2 separate regions of the Homo sapiens genome follow, and region 1 is linked to region 2. The links are contacts of gene promoters, found by promoter capture Hi-C in human tissues and cell types (Jung and others, 2019). All regions are on one chromosome and are shown on one strand. Each heading gives the region's core, a stretch centred on a gene start or on the middle of the fragment in contact. The rest is flanking DNA. Distances are from core to core; before and after follow the strand shown. Region 1 overlaps TMPRSS6 (transmembrane serine protease 6). Region 2 holds the start of CARD10 (caspase recruitment domain family member 10).

What was found. Contacts are between HindIII fragments. The study calls those that stand out against the background at their distance.
Region 1: a contact is called between a fragment that was not itself captured here and the fragment with the promoter of CARD10 in region 2, in 1 of the 25 tissues and cell types used here (hippocampus).

What each region holds. Positions count from the first base shown.
Region 1 is chr22:37,078,272-37,080,971 of GRCh38, reverse strand. The region is part of intron 10 of TMPRSS6 (transmembrane serine protease 6); the gene reads left to right. Among named protein-coding and RNA genes, the nearest start is that of KCTD17, 28 kb to the right of the region's middle. RefSeq lists an enhancer at 1-591. The HindIII fragment of the contact is 8,225 bases long and covers 1-2,700 here.
Region 2 is chr22:37,518,128-37,520,827 of GRCh38, reverse strand. CARD10 (caspase recruitment domain family member 10) reads left to right here and starts at 1,413. Exons shown (of 20, transcript NM_014550.4): 1 at 1,413-1,862. The coding sequence starts at 1,628. The HindIII fragment of the contact is 30,090 bases long and covers 1-2,700 here.

The DNA.
Region 1 (2,700 bases), core at 3-2,502, 440 kb after region 2:
GTCTGTGTGCGTGCGTACATCCATGCATGTCTGTGCACGTGTACGTGCATGTGTGTGTGGTCCACGTGTGCGATTCTTCCCTCTGAGCCTCTAGCGGCCCATGCCAGCTGGTGACTCCCTCAGCCAAGGCATCCCCAGCCAACCCACTGGCATCTGGGTGGGGGGATCGACAGTTTCTGTGGCTGTCCCACCAGTTCCAGAGCGGCCTGGGAAGTCCCAGCCCTTTCTTCTCAGACTTTCATTAAGGGTCCAGGGTCCCCAGGGGCAGACTCTTGTCCCCTCCCCGCAGACTCCTCCTGTGTGAATGAATGTGGAAGGGAAGGCAGAGGTGGCGCCTGCAAACCATCCGCACTGGGCCACTGTGCCCTCTAGTTATGATCATGGGCGATAGTGATCATCCCATGTAGATGCTGAGAAATTCTTAGAATGAGCATTTGTTGGAAATCTGCTTGTGTGGGTGGCAAAGACATGAGAGGTCTAGGGAAGAGCAGATTTTCAGACAAGGCACTTTAGGGAGGGGGAGGTACAGCCCTTTGGCCCAGAATGCCCATTGATGGAGAGGGCGGGTCAGGGGAGAGGGTATCTTAACCCTCAAGTGCCAGCGTAGTGATGAGGAAAGGCTGGCCTGGTGGGCCCCCCATGGACTAAGCATCCTTAGGCACTTCACCTGACTCCTCTGAGACTGTGGTGCCTCCTTCACCCCTGACCTGCCTGCTTTCTACCTAGCTTCTCCCGGTGCCCACTTGAGCCCAGCTGAGGCCTCAGGCCCTTGAGTGGCCTGGGGGTGGTAGAGGGACTTGGCCCGTGAGATCTGGCCATGGCTGCTCCATTTCGCAGAAGCCACTCTCACGGGCTGCCACCGAAGCACGGGCTTCCCCCTTTCCGGGAACCTGCCTCCTGCCAGCTTCCTCTCCTGTGACATCACTTCTCTTGTGATTCGCCCCACCATTTCCACTCACTCCCAGCCAGTGGGGACAGGCAGAACCATGGGTTCCCTAGGCCAGCTGGAGCCACCCCCGACCCGGCCTGGCCTGGCTATGGGGTGGCCCTTGTGTTCTCCGGAGCGCTAGTGGCCAGCACAGGCGGCAGCCACAGACACTTAGTAGGAACTTCAGTGTGGCTGACCTGAGCTGGGCTGGCCGTGCAGGAGAGTGCAAGCTGCTTCCTCCATGAGCTCACAGCCTGACGTCAGCAAGTGCTTCAAAGAAGTCATTTCCTATGCATGCCTTAAACCATGCCACAAGGGAGATACGATCACCCCTGTTTTACAAATGTGAAAACTAAAGCTTGCTGAGGGTGACCCAAGGTCACACAGCTTGTTCCTGGGGCAAAGCCAGGCTGCCAATTCAGCTCTGCAGCCCCAGGTCTAGAGCTCTGGCAATGCCAGGTGCTGCTCTCCTCCCCTCTTCAGCACTTGCCTTCTGTGACCCTCCTTCCCCTTTAATCTGTCTGTAGGTAAGGGCACGGGGGTGTGCATTCATCCACCCACGCACCCTTCTTTCCTTCTTCCTTCTTGTGTTCTCCCCACCCTTCCATCCATCCATCCATCCATCCATGCATCTATCCCTCCAGGCAGTACATCCTGACAGGGTCCCTGTCTACCTCCTGGATGAGGCAAGAAGGAAATATTCCCCATATCCAGAGAGGTGAGGAAGCAAGGCAGGCCACACGGTGCAAAAATGTGCCTTCAGACACTCAGTACTTTGTAGCCAAGATGAACTGGCAGGCATCGCAGCAGTCAGGCTTCTGGTGCTTCTTGGAGAGGGCTAGAGGGGAGCACTTGTTGGACGGGAGGCACTGGAGAGCCAGAGAATGTGCACCCTCCCCCAGAGAGTTCTGCAGCAGAAACAGAAAACTCAGATGGGCCAAGGGGCCAGGCCAGGGCTAGAGTCTATGATGGGGGGTAGGGTAGTCCAGTGGTGTTTTCGGGGCTTTTCTTTCTTTCTCTCTTTCTCTTTCTTTCTTTCTTTCTTTCTTTCTTTCTTTCTTTCTTTCTTTTTCTTTCTTTCTTTCTCTTTTTCTCCTTCTCCTTCTCCTTCTTCCTCTTCTTTCTCTTTCTTCTTTCTTCTTCCTTATTCTCCTTTTCCCTTCTTCTCCCTTCCTCTTCTCCTTCTTCTCCTTCTCTTCCTTCTCCTCCTCCTCTTTCTTCTTCTTCTCCTTCTCCTCTTCCTCCTCCTCCTTCTTCTTCTCCTCCTCCTTCTCCTCATTCTCTTTCTCCTTTCTTCCTCTTCATCTTTTCTTCTTCTTCTCCTCCGCCTCCTCCTTCCTCTTCCTCTTCCTCTTCCTCTTCTCCTTCTAAAGGAGCAGGAATCTGGATTATTATGTGAAATTAGCTCGCGACTCAATGAAGCAATTTCTACATGGTGCATAAACAGATTGTCTTTACGCTGAGTGACTCCGCTTGGGCCACTAGATTTCAGCCGCTGCCTTGAATTCCTCTCTGGCGCTTTCTAAGCAGACGCTTGTTCCAGGGATTCCACCACCTCTACCCGTGCTCCAGGCCTCCAGAGTGAGAACCAAACACTGCCCAGACAGACAGGTTCCCGGGTACACGGTGAGGCCCTGGGGAAAGGTTGCTGCCAGCTACAGACTGGTTCTAGGACTCTCCCTGGAGGTTGAGAGAACTTCCTGTAGCAGGCACAGGTGTCTTTGCCTTACAGCCCCTGCCCAAGGCTTGGGTGACACTACAGGTCCTCAACG
Region 2 (2,700 bases), core at 164-2,663:
ACTAGAATTCAGTTCTCCCAAAGCATTTCTTCTGCATGTAAACAGGTGACACCCAAAACAAAAACAAATGTACAACAAATGCAAACCAAAAAAAGGCTGTGGTTAATTAAGTTTGGAAAAGGACACCAGGATATATAAAGTTAAATCTGTTTCTTTACTGCTGGGGCTTTTTTTTTTTTTTTTTTTTTTTTTGAGGGGGAGTCTCATTCTGTTGCCCGGGCTGCTGGAGTGCAGTGGCACGATATCACTGCAACCTCCGCCTCCTGGGTTCAAGCGATTCTCGTGCCTCAGCCTCCCGAGTAGCTGGGATTACAGACGCGCACTACCACGTCTAGCTAATTTTTATATTTTTAGTAGAGATGGGGTTTCGCCATATTGGTCAGGCTGGTCTCGAACTCCTGACCTCAGGTGATCCACTCGCCTCGGTCTCCCAAAGTGTCGGGATTCCAGGCATGAGCCACCGCCCCCGGCCTTAATTTAAGCAGGGCTTTTCAGAGCCTTTATTGATTGAAACCTTAATTCTTTGGATAAGTAATACATATGTCCACGGCATCTAATTCAGAAGTTGTGGAAGGCGATTAGGGAGCTCACACCTCTTTCCTGTACCGGTTGTGCCTCCTCTGTTCCTCCCTGGCAGCAGGTACCTGGCAGCTTCTAATGCATAGCGAGACTGTATCGCATGCACCAGCAGATACCGTGTAGACTCGGCCAGTATCATGGTAAGACACCACCGGCCTCCCAGGCAGGAGCGGGAGTATGGATGGCTAGTCACAGCCCGCCCCCAGCATCTCTGGGACCAACACCTGGAGGAATACCCTTTGAGAATTGTGGGGTCCCTGGTCCTCAAGTGCCACGGGAGTTTGCGTAAGAGGGGAGTTGGCAGTGCTGCCCTGCAGGTTCAGACCCCCATCTTGCAGAAAGCCCCCATGACCTCTGCCCATTGCTGTCCCCCGCGGGGCTGTCCTGCGCTCCAGGGAAGCTCCCGCGCCCGCAGTGCATGTGGGGACCCGAGAAGGGCAAGCCCAGCTTGAGTGCCCGCGGGCTGCGCCGGGCGTGAGCGGCTAGCCCCGCACGGGCGGGCGCGCTGTGGGCGTGGGGAGGCGATGCGCGTGGCCCGGGGAAGGTGTGTCGCGGCGCGCGGGGGGTGTGAGCGCGCCTGCCCGCCCCCGCCCCGCCCAGAGGCCGGGCAGGTGTGGGCGGGCGGCCAGGACCCCGCCGAGCCGGGCTGGAGAGCCGGCGGGAAACAGGAAGCAGGGGGAGGCGCAGCCGGACGGCCGGGAGGGAGGGCGTGCAGACGGACGCGCGGGGTGGCCGGGGGCCGGACGCACGACCCGGGGCGGGCGGCAATGTGGGGAGGCCCGGGCAGCCCAGGAGGCTGCGGGGACGGGGGCGGAGCCGGGGGCGCCACGGGCACCGCCCCCCTGCGCCGGCGGAGCCGCCGCCCGAGTGCGGACCCGGGAGCCCGAGGCGACTGTAGCGTGCGGGGTGAGTCGCGGGGAGCTCGGGGCGCGCCCCCGACGGCGGGTCTGCGGACGACGCCCCGGGGGTGCTTGGCCGCACATCTAGCCCTAGGGAGCCCTGGTCGACCCCCGTGCGCCTCTTGCCCGCAGACCCTGAGGACACGGCCATGCCGGGCCGGGCGGAGGCGGGGGAGGCCGAGGAGGAGGCCGGGGCCGGCTCGGGGTCTGAGGCGGAGGAGGACGCGCTGTGGGAGCGAATCGAGGGCGTCCGGCATCGGCTGGCTCGCGCCCTGAACCCGGCCAAGCTCACGCCGTATCTGCGCCAGTGCCGGGTCATCGACGAGCAGGACGAGGAGGAGGTGCTGAGCACCTACCGCTTCCCGTGCCGCGTCAACCGCACCGGTGAGCCGCGGGTCCCGAGTGGGCCACGACCTGGGCCGGCCGTGCCCTGGGGCGCAGCGCCCACAGCCGTGTAGCGCGAAGCTAGGGCTCTGCTGCCCTGGGGCTCGGTCTCCGCATCAGTAGAGTGGGCCGGCTGGGTATGCCCACCAGCCTGCCTCCTCCCCACCCACCACTGCGCCTTGGCGGTCCGCGTTGCCCACACCGGGGTCAGAGTTTTGTCTCTTGGGGTTCTCTCCCACTTCCTGGGTCCACATTAGAGCAGAAGGTTGGATGTGGCTGCCAGGGCCGGCTGGGCCTGGGACCTCCCGGTCACAGCCGGTGGACTTGGCACCTTTCCTGCGCTCTTTGATCTCCGAGTTCTGTCTGTCCCCTCCTCTGTGCACCATACACTCCTGGGGGAGTCCTTTTTCAAGTGTCAAGATCCGTCTCAGCTTTACGTGGGTCCCCACTCCCACAGGGTGTGCCTTTGAACCAGAACTCAAAAAGGCATGATGGAATGGTCTTTAATGGTGGAATTTCAGGCATGGCCAATGGGAGAAGTATTTTCTTTGCTTCTGGGGATAGAGGGGGCTTCTCTGTGCCATTGAAAAGGCAGGCTGCATTTGCGGGCCGGCATCTGTGTCTGTGGGGGGTGTTGGGGAGCTCTGGGAGCCCAGGAGTCATGAGGGAATGTGCTCCCCTGGCTGTGGCAGAATGGCTCTCTTCTCTTCCCTGATGTGTTGGGACAGGCCCCTGTGTGTGTCACTGGCTCAAAAATCTGGGGAACGTGGGCCTGGAGCATGGTGGGGGCAGAAGCAACCAGGCACCTGGGGAGGCCTTCCCCTAGACCCTGGGTACA